Regions from separate parts of the Homo sapiens genome. Here all the other regions are linked to region 3. Evidence: promoter capture Hi-C in 16 types of primary human blood cells and fetal thymus (Javierre and others, 2016). All regions are on one chromosome and are shown on one strand. Each heading gives the region's core, a stretch centred on a gene start or on the middle of the fragment in contact. The rest is flanking DNA. Distances are from core to core; before and after follow the strand shown.

Region 1 (2,921 bases), core at 362-2,861, 430 kb after region 3:
TTAATTTGAAAACATGCATTTTTCACATGCCTGAACTTAACTAGGATGTTCCAAATCGTGTTGTGTATGGATACATATTAGGCAGTATTATAATAATAACATATTGAAAACTTACTAGATGCCAGAATTTGTTGAAATTGGTTTACGTGTATTAGCTATTTAATCCTTACAACACTGAGGTCATACCGTTATTCTCATTTTGTAGATGAGAAATTCAAGGCGTAGAGGGGTTAAGTGGCTATAATAATGTTATGAATTATTAGATAATATGCCATATTATATACTTATGAAATGATATGTTTTAAAAATACTTTGAAATATTTAAAGCACATGAAAAATAATGCACGCTACTTATTCTTTATTCCAAGCATTCAAGACACATGATTAATAGGCAAACGTAGCTTTTATTAAAAATTCCAAATCTCAGAGTCTCCAGGATCTTTTGAAGTATTTATTATTCAATAGAAACTTGATACTGAAGTTAAAATGCAACAATTCCTAAAGCTAAATTTAAATGGTAGAAATATAATAAGCCTAGAAGGTCCAAAGAAATACAGGCATACCTCAACAGCGTTGCAGGTTTGGTTTCAGACCACTGCAACAAAGCAAATATTTCAATAAAATGAGTCATACGAATTTTTTGGTTTTCCAGTGCATATGAAAGTTATGTTTACACTATACTGTGGTCTGTTAAGTGTGCAGTAGCATTATGTATAAAAACAATGTACATACCTTAATTTATTGCTAAAAATACTAATCTTCTGAGCCTTCAGCAAGTCTTAATATTTTTGCTAGTGAAGAGTCTTGCCTCGGTGTTGGCTACTGATTGATCAGGGTGGTGGTTGCTAAAGGTTAAGGTGGCTGTGGCAATTTGGTAACATAAGAGACCAATAAAGTTTGCTACATTGATGGATTCTTCCTTTCACAAAAGATTTTTCTGTAGCATATGATGCCATTTGATAGCATTTTACCCACAGGAGAAGGCCTTTCAAAATTGGAGTCAATCCTCTGAAACCCTATTGCTGCTTTATTAACTAAGCTTATGTAACATTCTAAGTCCTTTGATTACAGTTAAACAATGTTCATAGTATCCTCACCAGGAGTAGATTCCATCTCAAGAAACTGCTTTCTTTGCTTATCCGTAAGAACCAACTTTTTGTCCATTCAAATTTTATCATGACATTGAAGCAATTTGGTTACATCTTCAGTTTCTACTCCTAATTCTAGTTCTCTTGCTACATCCACCATATTCGCAGTTACTTCCTCCATCAAAGTCTTGAACCCTCCAAAGTCATCCATGAGAGTTAGAATTAACTTCTTCCAAAATCCTGTTCACTTTGACATTTTTGACCTCCTAAGAATCACAAATGTTCTTAATAGCGTCTAGAATAGTGAATCCTTTCCAGAGGACTTACAATTTATTTTGCCCAGATCCATCAGAGGAGTCACTATCTACGGCAACTAGAGCTTTACAAACTGTATTTCTTAAATAATAAGACTTGAAGGCAAAATTACTCCCTGGTACATGGGCTGTAAAATGGTGGTCGTGTTAGCAGGCATGACAACAACACTGATCTCATTATATATCTCTATCAGGCTCTTGGATGGCCATGTGAATTGTCAATGAGTAATATTTTGGAATAGATTTTTTTTTAAGCAGTAAGTCTCAACGGTGGGCTTAAAATGTTCAGTAAATCACACCGTCAACAAATGTGCCATTATCCAGGCTTTATTGTTGTATTTACAGGGCACAGGCAGGGCAGGTTTAGCATAATTCTTTTTTTTTTTGAAATGGAGTCTTGCTCTGTCACCCAGGCTGGAGTGCAGTGGTGCGATCTCAGCTCACTGCAAGCTCCGCCTCCTGGGTTCACGCCATTCTCCTACCTCAGCTTCCTGAGTAGCTGGGACTACAGGCGCCCGCCACCACGCCCAGCTAATTTTTTTGTATTTTTAGTAGAGACGGGGTTTCACCGCATTAGCCAGGATGGTCTCGATCTTCTAACCTCGTGATCCTCCCGCCTTGGCCTCCCAAAGTGCTAGGATTACAGGCTTGAGCCACTGCACCTGGCCAGGTTTAGCATAATTCTTAAGAGCCCTAGGATTTGCAGAATGGTAAATGAGCATTGGCTTCAGCTTAAAGTTACCAGCTGCAGTAGACTATCAGCACGGCCTTTGAAGCTTTGAAGCCAGGCATTGACTTCTCTCTAGCTATGAAAGTCCTAGATGACATGTTCTTCCATCTTCATCAATGTGGGTGAAGGTTGTTTCATCTACATTGAAAATTTGTTGTTTAGTGTAGCCACCTTCCTCAATTATCTTAGCTAAATCTTGACAACTTGCTGCAGCTTCCACATCAGCACTGGCTGCTTCACTTTGTACTTTTATGTTATAAACACCAAACTCTGATAGCTTCAAACTTTTCTTTTGCAGCTTTCTCACCTCTCTTAGCCTTCATAGAACTGAAGGGAGTAAGGGCCTTCCTCTGGGTTAGGCTTTGGCTTAAGGGAATGTTGTGGCTGGTTTGATCTTCCACCCAGACCACTAAAACTTTCTCCATATTAACAATGAGGTTATGACATTTTCTTCTTATTCACATGTTCACTGGAGTAGTGCTTTTAGTTTCCTTTGAGAACTTTTCCTTTGCATTCACTACCTGGCTAACTATTTGGTGCAAGAGGCATAGATTTTGGCTTATCTCAGCTTTTGACATGCTTAATCATTTACTAGTTACTTAGCTTAATCATTTCTAGCTTTTGATTTAAGATGAGAGACATGTGACACTTCCTTTTACTTGAACACTTAGAGGCCATTGGAGAGTTATTATTGGCCTAATTTCAATATTGGTGTGTCTTAGGAAATAAGGAGGCCTTTGGAGAGGGGGAGAGATGAACAGGGGAATGGTGAGTTGGTAGAACAGTCAG
Region 2 (2,700 bases), core at 153-2,652, 330 kb after region 3:
TGGTACCTTTTATATCAACAGGCATTTCTCTTTTGACGATAACGGATAGATTCTGCAAACCTATTACAGTCAAAAGAGAAATGTCTGTTGATATAAAAGGTATCGTCTTTACATTATTTTGCACACTGTAGGCAACTTAAGGTCACCAGAGGAGGCGGGTGAGAAAGTGACAAGAGACCAGCAGTAAGTTTCCTCACATAAGTTCCCTACAGTGACTGGAACCTATCAGCTTGGCTTCTTTATTGCTGGTATTGAGATAAATCGCCACACAGAAACATCATCTAGGAGTTAATCAGAACAGAAAACTCAGGAAGATTCAGGACCCACACTGGATACCATTATTGTCATAAGTCAAGCAGCATTTCTCCTTCATTAGTACCATATTTCATTACAGTATATCACCACAATGTTTAGTAATAGTTTTACAAGAAAATAGACTTCAAAGCTTTGTGCCTTTGGTTTCTATGTAGTGAATTTCTCATTATAACTTTTTATCTTTGCTTAAACTGAAAAGTGAACGAATTGACCTTTATGAGTCAGTGTGCACTCCGGTGTTTTACCAAGAAATAATACCTTTAAAATGATATATTTGCGTATGCATAGAATATTCCAGAAAGATATGCAAAACTGATTATCTCTAGAGTGGCCGGGAGATGAGAGAAAGGTGGAAGGGGCCTTTTCACTTAGACATTTTTGTGAATTTTATACTTTGTGCAAGTATCATCTACTAATTTTTAATAATTATGTTAAAACTTTTTTAAAGAATAAACAAAAATTCTTGTTAAGGTTCTTAATCCCTGAATATATTTCAGCAGTGACCAAGATTAAATAGCAATGATTTCCCAAGGGTCAAAGGCATTGGCTCCATTCTGATCTAGCCTGTTTCTTATTCCCCCGCAATGCATCATGTGGCATGTTTTCTTTTAAATATCCAAAAAAGTTAATTTGAAAAAAAAACTGAGAATTTTATGTCATCATTCAAAATAACTGGAGATTCTTAGGGTGTGCCAAAACCACAGCTGGGAATCACTGAAATACAGATTCTGAAAGTGTTAGGTACATTTTTAAAGATTGCAGAATCCAGTGATGTATAAATGCATATAAGTTCTACCTGCATTTATACATCACATTAGTTTACTCTAATTCTCTTGGGCTTATTAAATTCAATGACCAATTATTTGAATATGCACACAAAAATCTAAATTATAACATCAGGCTGAAGCATTAAGTAGATAAATATAGTGAATGGTTAAGGCATGTATTGCAAAATTTTTAAACAGCACTTTGAAATGAGAGGAAAGAAAATCTCTATTCCCCTATCCTTCCTCAAAATACATGTTTATTATAGTTTTGCTACCTAGAAACTTTGGAGTTTTTAACATTAAAAAAAAGGAAGCATGATGTAATGGAAAACACAGGACTACAGAATCACACAGAGTTGGGTTCAAATCATCCAACCTGTCAGTTGGGTAACTTCTGACAATTCATTTGGCTCTTACTCCTCGAACACCTGCTACATTGCTGGCACTTAGCTTGGTGTTGGGCACTGGGCAAAAGCAGTGAACAAGGCAAAAATGAGCTTATGGTTTGGTGGGAAAGGCAGACAATGAAATTATATTAAAGTGTATGAAGGAAAATTACAAGGAGCTGTGTCAGGAAACCAACATGGTCTAGGGATCAGAAGTAGCTTTCTAGAGGAGTGATGCTCAAGGCAAGACCTGAAGGGTAACACAGACTTAGTTGGGTGAAGCAACTCCCTCATCTTCAGGTCCTTATTTGTAAAACAGGGACTGTAATAGCTGCCTCAGAGGGCTTTTTGAAGTTTTAATGAATTTGATATTGAAAGCATTTAGCACAGCATCCAGCACATAGTAAATGCTCAATAAACAGTAGCTATTATTATTCGTCTTTTTTGTACAGTCTTCTCTGGTTATATATGAGTCAGCCCTCAAAGGTTTAAAAGTTACAAAGTGGCCCCTCAACCATATACTTCTGTTTTCCTATACTTGCTACATGGGAGTCAAAGTGTGGAGTAGACCAAGGGCTCATCCTCTCTGGAAAAATGCCTTTGGCTCAGAGCTGTACACTCACCTTGGCCACTGAGGTAGGTCCCCATATCTTTTTTGTCACAGGGTTAACATGTTATGTGAGTCAGATCTAAAATTTTGGCCCCTTCAAAGGCTGCTGGGTCTCTCTGTTTAATCAGACATGAAACAAATCGCGTGCTGTGGCAGAGGCGTACAAACACGCTTTAATTACAATATTGTAACACCAATTAGAGATCTATCTAATCGAGGACTCGGCACTTCCTGCTCGGATATTACTCCCATGTTGGGATAATTACTGCTAATTAAGCTTGGAACTAATTAGGCTAAATGATCTCATTTATACCAACAAAGATGACTTCTAGGAGTTCATAAGAAAAACTAGGGTGATTTTATCATTCCTGGACTATTTGGCATTTCACACTGGAAATAAAACACCTTCCCCTGACATGGAGGTGCACAGATGGTTGGTTCCTCTGGAATTCTGGTCCTAAATGGCAGTAGGTTCTTCATTTGTCTACACAGATTCTCCTATACGGTGAAACAAATACTGTAAAAACATTGTCCACTCACATTGCACTACGTTCTTCCACAAATGACAACTGCGGTGTCAGGAAGGGGCTGCCACTGAGAGTGGACACAGTGGCAAAAGCTG
Region 3 (2,878 bases), core at 201-2,700:
ATAAGAGTTATTGGCTGGGCGTGGTGACTCATGCCTGTAATCCCAGCACTATGGGAGGCCGAGGTGGGAGGATCACTTGAGGTCAGGAGTTCAAGATCAGCCTGGCCAACAGGGTGAAACCCTATCTCTACTAAAAATACAAAAATTAGCTGGGCACGGTGGTGGGGCACCTGTAATCCCAGCTACTTGGGAGGCTGGGGCAGGAGAATTGCTTGAGCCCAGGAGGTGGAGGCTGCAGTGAGCTGAGATCACACCACTGCACTCCAGCCTGGGCAACACAGCGAGACTCTGTCTCAAAAAAAAAAAAAAAGAGTTATTAAATTACTAACTACAACTACAGTCTATTTTCATCATCATTTCATAAAAGGGGATTTTAACACCACAAAACTGGAGAGGACATAACTTCAGAATAAAAGACAAGCCTTTAAATTGAACACACTTAACTTGGTGAAACATTTACTACATTGTTAACTTTATCATTGTCACATTTTGGTCACAGGTTGTGGAAACCTTCATCTTGAGCTAGAACTGACAGATCCCCAGATGGATGTCTGAGAACCAGTGAACTTGGCATTATCAATCCCCATTACCAGACAAAAAGACAGGCTGGGAGGTGAAATGAGTCTCCAAGATGGGGGCTTAGCTAGTGAGGGCAGAGCTAGGCTGTGAGCCCTGGTCTTCTAGATCTAAGCCCATTACAGCATAGCCCTCCTCTGGTTTTGAAGAGGCAGAATAACACATATACATCCATTAATAAGTTATCCAAAGCGTTCAATGGCCACTTACCACTCTGGTTGGTAACCAGGTGGAAAGTGCCTCTTTTCTAGTTTCTAGAACAGCCACTAGCCAGCAGTTCTCATAGATAGACAACAGAACCTGCTCCTAGGAGGAATTTTATGGTCCTTAGCCAGATCCCTTCCTGTGCTCCATTAAATGCTCCAACATGGAAAATGCTGAGCACGAAGCCTCCGCTACCCCCACAGCATTCAGTAATTATGACTATTATTTCTATTGTAGAATTTGAGTGAAAAGGGCACAAAACTTTTTCATAAATATCAAATACTTGGTTTAGGTCCCTGTGGATTCCTGTAGACATGAAAAGAGCTTAAGAAGTCAAATTGTAGTTTGAGTTTGGACATCTCTGTTTCCCCATCCTGCTGATTATTCCAGCATTCCTCTCCCTTCCAAACCTCTGCCAGTTCTTAGGTCAACTTGAAGAGGGTTTTCAGAGTTGGAGTGTAAGTCTAGCCATCCCAGCCCAAGACTGAATCTTATTGGCAACCTTTTTCCTTTTGGAGAAGCCTATATATGGCCCTTAGATTAGGCTGAGAAAGAACAATTGGGGGGAAGGTTACAAACTAATATCACCCAAGGAAAACTTGCCAATACAAGGAGTGTCCCACGGAGAAATATGTGCTCTTTCTCTCTTGGCGCTCAGCAGCAAAATGGCAACTTTCGTCTCTTTCCTTTGCTGCCTAAAAGCCCACCTCCCACTTCTCTACCCCGCCCCTACTGTGCTGCACGACTGAGCAGATATGACTGGATTGGCCCTGATGGGTAGGTTTTACTGTCCAGCAATATTTTAAGCTCCCAGCCAGACAGCTTTTATGAAGGGAGGGATGTTTGGGAAACAATGGGAGTGAGAGAATGGGAGAGCTGTGTTGGGCACTGAGGGGAGGAGGATGGGGAAAGCTGATGTGTGAAAGCTTAGCTGGGGCTTCTGTGCCTCCCAAAGTTTCTTTTAGCAGCAGACTGGGCCTGTACATCAGTAAACCTTTGGCGTCTCTCCAGAGCGCATGAGCCTAGGGGCATTTTCCCAAGGCCTTATCATCAGCTGGGAGAATCTTAATGATGTAGGGACAGTAAGTGGTCAGTTGTGTGAATCCCTCTGCCCTGAGTCACACCAAGAGTGGTTGGTCCTTTCCAAAGGACCATATTTCATTTTTTATTGGTGGTTTGCTCTTGTCTCTCAAAGCCTTCAGCAGAATTGTGGATATTAGAGGCTGGGAAGTGTAGTGGCGGAAGGAAGGATGGGGAGCATGTTGCTAATAGATACAAAAGCACAGCTAGATAGGGGGAATGGGTTCTGGTGGTCTGCAGTGCTGTAGGGTGAATATGGTTAACATTAATTAATTAATTATTTTAATTTTTATATTTTTGTGTGTGTGTGAGACAGAGTCTCGCTCTGCCACCCAGGCTGGAGTGCAATGTCACGATCTTAGCTCACTGCAACCTCTGCCTCTCAGGTTCAAGTTATTCTCCTGCCTCAGCCTCCTGAGTAGCTGGGATAACAGACACCCACAACCACGCCCAGCTAATTTTTTTTTTTCTATTTTTAGTAGAGACGGGGTTTCACCATGTTGGCCAGGCTGGCCTCAGACTCCTGACCTCAGGCGATCTGCCCGCCTTGGCCTCCCCAAATGCTGGGATTACAAGCATGAGCGACCATGCCTGGCCGTTAACTATTTTATTGTATAGTCTCAAAAAGCTAGAGGAGAGGATTTTGATTGTTCCCAACAGAAAGAAATGATAAATGTTTGAGATGCTGAATATGCTAATTATCCTGATTTGATCATTACACATTGTATACATGTATTGAAATATCACTGTGTATCACAAATACGTACAATTATTATGTGTCAACTAAACATAAAAGGAAAGAGCTTTCTAAAAAGATCAAAACAATAAAAAAGAAACACAAACAAACCTTCAGCAGGGTGGTCTCCCTCTTTGAAAGGAGCCTTAACACTCCAAAGAATTCTGGTGCCATTTGTCAAAGTAATAGCCTTTCTCACCACGTTTCACTTATAATTACATATACTTTTGAGTAGCGGAAGTTCAATCAATGTCAGCTAACATTTTTAGACTTTAGTGCCTT
Region 4 (2,891 bases), core at 246-2,745, 370 kb after region 3:
ACTCCTTCTAATGAAGATGTGGAAAGGAGCTTAGAACACTCTGAAAAAGGCCTTATGAATTGATATGAGCCAAAGCAAGGAAGGCACAAACTAGAACAAGTTGCATTTGCTATGGGCTGTGTTTGTAACGCCCCTTCCCTGAAATATGCTTCTGCCTGAAGCTTGCAGCTCATCAGAGCAGAAAGAGGCAGCAGAGACACCAGTGGGAGCAACTGATTTTGGTAAACAATGAACCAACTTCTCCCCCAGGGGAGCAGATCAGAGGAGATGTAATAAACTATGGAGAGAAACTCTCCAGCCATTTGCAGTGACTCATTCGCCAGAAAGAGACTGCTTCTTCTGATTGACCTTGGCTGCTGCAATGGTGTTGAACATGAGCTTACGCTGGCCTTGGTTAATGGGCAGAGAGTTTCAGGTATGACCTGGGGCACTCAGCTGTTCTCAGGGCTGCTTAGATGCCTGCAGAGGCAACAGCTACCTAGGCCACTAGCCACAGCTAAGTAGATTCTCTGCTGAAACTAATCTTGAATTCAGTTTGGACTGATTCTGAGAGGGCTATGTATAAAAGGATTTCTCACCAGCTGGGCTCCAGAGTTCGAGTTGTTCTGCCCTACAGAGCTAGATGGAGATAATTGCTCTGAAACTATTATAGTTGCATTCATAGTACATCTGGATCTGAGGTTGTTTGACCTCTGAAAACCTAAAATGGAAATAATGCAATTATCTGAGCTAAAGACAATTTAATAAAAAGCAGTACTGAAGCCAGGAAAAGGAAATTTATCTTTTATACCATGTCTTTTGCCTAGCAATGGAATGTGTACCTTTCATAAAGATGAAAGATGCATGAAAGGCTGAATAGAAGGTAGTGTTTTTCATTCAGTTCAATAAGTGTTTGCTATTACCTATTACGTGCAAAAGACTGTGCTAGGTCTGGGGACACCAAAATGAGGAAGACTTTTTCCCTGTTCTAAAGGAGCATTTCATCTAGATAGTAGAAAAGAGAAAGATGTACACTAGTAACCATGACACAGCCATCATGAAATAAATGAAGCCAGCAAGTATTATAGGCATTTTGAAGTGCCTGCACAACACATTCCCTCTGTTTTTGGAAAATAATCCCTAGACTACCTGTTCAGTTAAGCTTCTGCACTTATATTTATACTGTATGACCAGTTTCCCTGGCCAATCAGATTCTCTCTCCCATAAATTTATTTATTTATTTTGAGACAGAGTCTAGCTCTGTCTCTCAGGCTGGAGTACAGTGGTGCGATCTCAGCTCACTGTAACCTCCGCCTCCGGGTTCAAGCGATTCTCCTGCCTCGGCCCCTGAGTAGTTGAGATTACAGGCACACATCACCATGCCTGGTTAATTTTTGAATTTTTAGAAGAGACGGGCTTTCACCATGTTGACCAGGCTGGTATCGAACTCCTAACCTCAGGAGATCTACCCACCTCGGCCTCCCTAAGTGCTGGGATTACAGGCATGAGTCACGGTGCCTGGCCTTCTCCCAGATATTTAAAAGTAGGGTTCACGGAAGCTAGTTGATCTCTATTAGTTCTTGAACTGATAAAACTGATGAGGAAAAAAAAAAAGAAATAGACCCACTCAGAGACAAAGAGATAAGAATCCATGTGGCCCAAGCCAGAGAGAGAGAGAGAGAGAGAGAGAGAGAGAGAGAGAGAGAGAGAGAGAGAGAGACAGAATGAAGCCCGAAGCCCTGGTGGAGGTTTCCTGAATTTAGGCACACTAAGATGTTCCTAGTTCTAAATGATTCCCCTTTCTCCCTCCCCCTAGACTGGTTCTAATGGATTCCTTTTGCTTGCACCAATAGAGTGAAAGTGAAGCTTTGTGGTTCAACCCAACCCTTCTCAGTTGCCAAGCACTGTGCTAGTTCTGGATGAACAGCAGTAAATTGAACACGCAAGGAGTTTGAGGCTTCATAGGAATTTTGGTATGGGGGACACCCAGTGTTTAGTATATACTATAAAGAAGTGCTGAGAGGACTCTGAGGAGGCAGCAACTTTTAATTCTTCAGGGGGATTTTAACAGGTGTGGTGGGATCGTGCATCTCAAGAAGAGGAAAAGGCGCTTCTCACTGAAAAGGGACGGAGGTTATATTAAGATGTTACTTCTACGCTTCATTGCCCCTCTAATCTTCAACCTGGCTCCAGAATGGCAAGCTAGTTTGCTCCCTGTGACCTACAGGCCAAATCCAGCCAGCCACCTGTTTTTACACAGTACAGCAAGCTCAGAATGGTTATTACATTTTTAAATAGTGGTTGGAAAAAAATTAAAAGAATATTTCATGGCACCTGAAAATTATAGGAAATTCAAATATCAATCTCCATAAAGTTGTATTGGGGTTGGGCATGGTGGCTGACACCTGTAATCCCAACGTTTTGGTAGGCAGAGGTGGGAGGATCACTTGAAGCTAGGAGTTCAAGACCAGCCTGGGCAACATAGTAAGACCTCATTTCTACAAAAAAATTAAAAATTAGCCAGGCATGGTGGTGCATGCCTGTAGTCCCAGCTACTCAGGAGGCTGAGGCAAGAGGATGGTTTGAGCCCAGGAGTTCCAGGTTACAGGGAGCTATGATGGCACGACTGTACTTGACAACAGAGTAAGACCTTGTCTCAAAAAAAAAAGTTTTATTGGAACATGGCCACTCTCATTTATTCACATATTGTCTATGGTTGCTTTTGCACTACAACCACAGCATTAAGTAGCTGCAACGGAGACCGTATGGTCTGCAAAGCTTAAACTGTTTTTGTCTGGTCCTTCACATAAAAAAGGTTGCTGACCTGGCTGGGCTCAGTGGCTCACGCCTGTTATCCCAGCACTTTGAGAGGCCGAGGCAGGTGGATCACCTGAGGTCAGGAGTTCGAGACC
Region 5 (2,892 bases), core at 29-2,528, 350 kb after region 3:
TTAAGATGCTTTTTATTTTTAAGGCAGCATTTCTTTTCCAAAAGGGAACTAGGGCACAGACATCAATGTTACCATACTCAAAGCAAATCCAATGAAGCCAAGAATTCAATTCAGTTGAGTTCAATAAACATCTCTGAGCACAACCACTTGTAAGGAGAGGAACTCTGCTGGATGCTCTTGGAGATGCAGAGGTGAACAGGACCTAAATCCTTACCCTCTGGTTTACTCTCTATTAAGGGATTTGTGATAGTGAACACATATAGCTAATATGATCATTCTAAGCAAAGTAGAATATAGCATGGATGCAAGAGTCCTCTGGCTCTAGGAATTGAAAAAGACCGTGCAGAATGTGACATTTGAGCCAGTCCTTGAAATAAGAATGAGTCTAATGTCCATCTGCAGAGTTTGGGAAAAGAGAAGCTAAGTAAAGAACCAAACCAAAACAGAATAAGAGAGCTTAGCTGAGGTTCTACCTTACAGTGTAAAGACCAGTCAGTATGCACTTTGTCACAGCAAGTGAACAAAGTCCATAATGCAGAAGATGTCTACTAGGCCCTCTTTAAACAGGATTCGGATGTAGAAACTCAATATAACTGAACAACCTGAAACAACCACCAGAATATACTGACTACTAATCATGAATATACTTATGGAGACAAGGCAGAATGTTTTAAATTAGGACTGTCTCCAAAAAAACCACCAAATCCAGAAAGCCTGGTATTGTATGTAAAAAAAAAAAAATTGGAAATTCCCAACTGCAGACTAAAATCTCAAAGAGTAGATGAATAAATGACCCATCTGTCAGTACCTTAGTACTCCTTTGTACTGCACAAGAACTCACACTAGTGTCCCATATGGTCACACCAGGGATTTATAGGCCCTTGTTAGATTGCTGTTCAACTCTAGAACCCAAACCTAGAAAGCGTAGAACAGGGTATTTCATTGTGTGATTCCTTCAACAGAACTCTGGGTAAGTACAGACTAGGAAAATGCCAATATAGTCTTATGGTTAGTAAGAGTGGATATTTCTCTGCTTTCACTCAAGGAAACTAATCTTTAAAAGCATTATTATCTGTTAATCTTTTCGTTTGTTTGTTTGTTTTATTTTTTGAGACAGAGTTTCACTCTTTTTGCCCAGGCTGGAGTGCAATGGTGCGATCTCAGCTCACTGCAACCTCTGCCTCCTGGGTTCAAGTGATTCTCCTGCCTCAGTCTCCCGAGTAGCTGGGATTACAGGCATGCGCCACCACGCCTGGCTAATTTTGTATTTTTTAGTAGAGACAGGGTTTCCATGTTGGTCAGGGTGGTCTCGAACTCCTGACCTCAGTTGTTCCACCCGCCTTGGCCTCCCAAAGTGCTAAGATTACAGGTGTGAGCCACTGCACCTGGCCTCAATCTATTATTCAGTCATTACAATGCTACTTTATATCACCCTTTATAAAACCACTGGTGTGAAGAAAAACTAAACTATAGAAGACGTCTAGTACTTCCACATTCATCCCTCAAGGACCATTGCAAATGTCATCTCCTTCATGAAGTGTTCCCCAATTCCTTCCACCATTATTCCCTTCACCACCAAATTAATTGTTCTCTCCCGTGACTACCACAGTTCTTTTGATCCATTGGTATATGCTTTATAATTAGTTCTGTGAATATCTGTCTCTCTCCACCAGGATGAAAGCACCTTAAAGGTAGGGATTCAAGCCTCAGTCATCTTGCACCCCACAATGCCAAGCTAATTTTCATTGCCTGACATACAACAGATATTTATCATATTTGTTAAATCACTTCCTCAGGTCTCAGAGACCTTATTTTGACATATTTAAATTATTAAAACTTTTAAAAGTCTATACCTTAGTCCATTTTCTGCTGCTGTAACAGGATACCACAGACTGCGTCATTTATAAAGAAAAGAAATTTATTTGCTAGAGTCTGGAAAGTCCAAGATTAAGGGGCCACATCTTGTGAGGGTCACTCCATAGCAGAAGGCATCACATGGTGAGTGAACATGTGGGCATGGCAGAGGGAAAATGGGGGCCAAATTCATCCTTTTATCGGGAGCCCACTCCCTTGATAACTAACCCACTCCCAAGATAACAGTGCTAATCCATTCATGAGGATGAAGCCCTTATGACCTCTCCGCCTCTTAAAGGTCTTACCTGTTAATACTGTCATAATGGCAATTAAATTTGAACATAAGTTATGGAGGGAACAGCTGAACCGTAACAGTACCCTATCCAAAACTTATCCTTGACTAACCATGGCACTCAGAGTCAGAGACCCTAATAGGTGTGTGCCTGCCACTATCCTTCATTCAATCAGCATGTACCTTTGGCTGTGCACTGAAGAAGTACTGCCCTTAACAAGACCTGAGCCTTGACTCAGTCACTTAGCAATTATATGACTTTGGAAATCCTTTGCGGTCAGACTGACCCAGCTTTAGATAGACTTACACTCTAGTTGTCACTTACTAATTGGATGATGTTGGGCAAGTTATACTCTCTAGACCGCAGTGTCCTCAACTATGAGATGAAGGTATTAATAGCACCTATCGCAGTTTGAATGAGACAATGCCTGGAAGAGTTTAGCTCAGTGTGTGGCACATAGCAAATACTCAATTATTATTATTGTCTCCTCATTTATAAAGTAGAAATAATAATACAAGTCCCTCAGGATTGTTATAAGGAATAAATGATACAAAAAGTGGAATTTTACCCAGCACATTGTTCTGTCAACATTTCCTTCCTCCTTATGTTCTAGAATAATTGCTACAGCTGATTGAGTGCCTTTTACATATCAGGTAATGTGTATCAGTCACTTTAAATATATGATCCCATCTAATTTAATTCTTAAGACAAGCTATTTAAATAACAATTATTATCCCTATTTTAC
Region 6 (2,700 bases), core at 169-2,668, 450 kb after region 3:
GGAAGGTGGTTCTGTAAGAGTTTACTTTGGGAAACTGATCCAAACACCACCCAGTCTATGGATATCTAAATTAGAAAAGTGAATATAAATTTTCAGGGATTTTCTAAAATAGGGTTTCTGAGGTTGCACACACTACTTATTATAAGCGCCTTGAAATGTGACTTCATATTAGTTGAAGTCAGTTCCTGAGGAACATATTCATGGGGCATTAAAAAAAATCTCTCTATATATGTCTACCTATAACTTTTTTTCCTTAGTTTGACTGGCTAATCTAATTTCTTGTGGGCCAGGGGGATAAGATGGGATAAGTAGTAATGTGAATCTATTTTTTCTTATTCTTTCTTTCTTTTTTTTTTTTTCCCAGACAGGGTTTTGCTCTGTTGGCTCTGTTGCCTGGGCTAGAGTGCAGTGGTGCAATCTTGGCTCTCTGCAGCTTCAACCTCCCAGGCTGTCAGTCCTCCCACTTCAGCCTCCTGAGTGGCTGGGACCACAGGCATGCACCACCACACCTGGCTAATTTTTTGTATTTTTTGCAGAGACGGGATTTGGACATGTTTCCCAGGCCGATCACAAACTCCTGGGTTCAAGTGGTCTGCCAACCTCAGCCTCCCAAAGTGTTGGGATTACAGGGTGAGCCACTGTGCCCAGCCTTATTTTTTCTTATTACTCATCATCCCTGATATAGTTTGGATATTTCACCCTCCAGATTTCATGTTGAAATTTGATCCCAGATGTTATAAGCGGGGCCTAGTGGGAGGTTTGGCTCATGGGGGCAAATCTGTCATGAACAGCTTGGTGCCATCCTTGCAGTAATGAGTGAGTTCTCATTCTATTAGTTCACGTCATGACTGATTGTCAAAAAGCCTGGCATCTCCTCCTCTCTCTCGTTCTTTCTCTCTCGCCACTTTACATGCCAGCTCCACTTCCCTTTCTGTCATGATTGGAAGCTTCCTGAGACCCTCACCAGAAGATGCTGGTGCCATGCTTCTTGTACAGCCTGCAGAACTGTAAGCCAAAAAAAACTCTTTTATTTATGAACTACCCAGCATCAGGTGTTCCTTTAGAGCAATGCAAAAAGGACTGAGACAATCACCACCATCGTCATTAAAATTTATTATTAGCAATCACCACCTATGCATGACACTTTCTGTAATATAATATACACTTGTCCCTTAGAATTTAAATTCGTATTCCTAGGAATAGGTAGCCTCATTGTAAACCCTCTCCTGTACAATAATGACTTTATTCTCCATGATCACATGGAGATAGATAGATTTCATAGAAAAAAATAATTTGAGGGTGATTTTTCTTAGACTGATTCTGTACCAAAAAATTGGCTTTAAAAGAATCTTGCTTAGGCCGGGCGTGGTGGCTCACGCCTGTAATCCCAGCACTTTGGGAGGCCGAGGAGGGCAGATCACGAGGTCAGGAGTTGGAGACCAGCCTGGACAACATGGTGAAATCCTGTCTCTACTAAAAATACAAAAATTGGCTGGGCGTGGTGGCACACGCCTGTAATCCTAGCTACTCAGGAGACTGAGGCAGAAGAATTGCTTGAACCTGGCGGGCGGAGGTTGCAATGAGCCGAGATCACACCACTGCACTCCAGCCTGGGCAACAGGGTAAGGCTCCATCTCAGAAAAAAAAAAATCTTGCTTAATAGTTTCAAAGTATGTTTTTCTTTAATGATTAAATTGATTTTAGTATAATGCATCCAATCAAAACCCAATGAGTTGCTTTGAAAAGATGCAACATTTTTACATACTTGAATTCAAACAGTATTTTTCAAACTGGGTAATGGATAGAAACAAACGTTAGATAATGATAGCCAGCACTAGTTAAATTTATATTATGTGCTAACTTTTTACATGTATTACATCTAAGCTTTTTACATGTATTAACTTATTTGATTCACATAATAACCTATAAGACAACCTACCACACCCATTTTGGAGATAAATAAACTGAAGCACAGAGGGTTTAAGTCATATAATAATTATTAATAGTGATACCTGATAATATCTTATATTTGCAAACTGCTCTATAGTCTGGAAAGCCAATGCATTCTTATCTTTGATTCTGAGAATTCAAGGCATGTGATTAATATGCCAGTACAGCTTTCATTAAAAATTCCAAATCTCAGGGGCTTCAGGAGCTTAAAGTATTTAAATTTCAATAGAAAGTTGGTACTGAAGTTAAGCATAAATAATTTTAAAATGTAAGTATAAACTCTGGAAAATAAGCATGGGGGTCTTAAAAGAGGAATTTTTTTTTTTTTTGCTTTGGCAATAAATGAAATGTTTTGTTGACTAACCTTAAGGGGTTTGTTTCCTCAAAAGAAACAAAATGGGCATAAACTAGAGTAACTGATGTGCTTTTGAAAGTCCTTACAGCACATCAGGGAAACATCTACTTATATTTAATTTCAATAACACAAAGCAATGATTAAAATTTTTAAATCAAATGTTCATGTTGCCCAGTAAATTGCTGATCTACTTAAACCACACACACGCACACGTGCATGCATGCTCTCACACACACACTCAGAATACCAGTATGTAGGACAATTTCTCTAAAAGAAAACCAAATTATTTCAGGTGCTTGTGGTGAAGTTAATTTATTGCCATGAATATATGAATTATTTTCACCTGGCCTAGATTTCTATTTGTAAGCTCTCCCATAATATGAGTGCCTAGAACC

Evidence for each region. Contacts are between HindIII fragments. The CHiCAGO score rates a contact against its expected background, and 5 or more counts as called.
Region 1: a contact is called between a fragment that was not itself captured here and the fragment with the promoter of GJA8 in region 3, in 6 of 17 cell types (naive CD8 T cells, M0 macrophages, M2 macrophages and 3 more). The highest score is 6.2, in naive CD8 T cells.
Region 2: a contact is called between a fragment that was not itself captured here and the fragment with the promoter of GJA8 in region 3, in 4 of 17 cell types (naive B cells, neutrophils, naive CD4 T cells and 1 more). The highest score is 5.8, in naive B cells.
Region 4: a contact is called between a fragment that was not itself captured here and the fragment with the promoter of GJA8 in region 3, in 1 of 17 cell types (total CD8 T cells). The highest score is 5.3, in total CD8 T cells.
Region 5: a fragment that was not itself captured here is called in contact with the fragment with the promoter of GJA8 in region 3 in 1 of 17 cell types (neutrophils); the score reaches 5.2 in neutrophils.
Region 6: a contact is called between a fragment that was not itself captured here and the fragment with the promoter of GJA8 in region 3, in 6 of 17 cell types (erythroblasts, total CD8 T cells, activated CD4 T cells and 3 more). The highest score is 6.8, in erythroblasts.

The regions. Positions count from the first base shown.
Region 1 is chr1:147,473,404-147,476,324 of GRCh38, reverse strand. All of the region lies in intron 3 of LINC00624 (long intergenic non-protein coding RNA 624), which reads left to right. Among named protein-coding and RNA genes, the nearest start is that of LINC00624, 43 kb to the left of the region's middle. The HindIII fragment of the contact is 1,139 bases long and covers 1,042-2,180 here.
Region 2 is chr1:147,574,255-147,576,954 of GRCh38, reverse strand. The region is part of intron 1 of BCL9 (BCL9 transcription coactivator); the gene reads right to left. Among named protein-coding and RNA genes, the nearest start is that of BCL9, 34 kb to the right of the region's middle. The HindIII fragment of the contact is 1,910 bases long and covers 448-2,357 here.
Region 3 is chr1:147,901,367-147,904,244 of GRCh38, reverse strand. It overlaps GJA8 (gap junction protein alpha 8), which reads right to left and starts at 1,450. Exons shown (of 2, transcript NM_005267.5): 1 at 1,384-1,450. The HindIII fragment of the contact is 6,753 bases long and covers 1-1,708 here.
Region 4 is chr1:147,532,003-147,534,893 of GRCh38, reverse strand. No RefSeq gene overlaps it. Among named protein-coding and RNA genes, the nearest start is that of BCL9, 8.1 kb to the left of the region's middle. The HindIII fragment of the contact is 704 bases long and covers 1,144-1,847 here.
Region 5 is chr1:147,550,825-147,553,716 of GRCh38, reverse strand. All of the region lies in intron 1 of BCL9 (BCL9 transcription coactivator), which reads right to left. Among named protein-coding and RNA genes, the nearest start is that of BCL9, 11 kb to the right of the region's middle. The HindIII fragment of the contact is 6,253 bases long and covers 1-2,892 here.
Region 6 is chr1:147,453,068-147,455,767 of GRCh38, reverse strand. The region is part of intron 3 of LINC00624 (long intergenic non-protein coding RNA 624); the gene reads left to right. Among named protein-coding and RNA genes, the nearest start is that of LINC00624, 63 kb to the left of the region's middle. The HindIII fragment of the contact is 937 bases long and covers 950-1,886 here.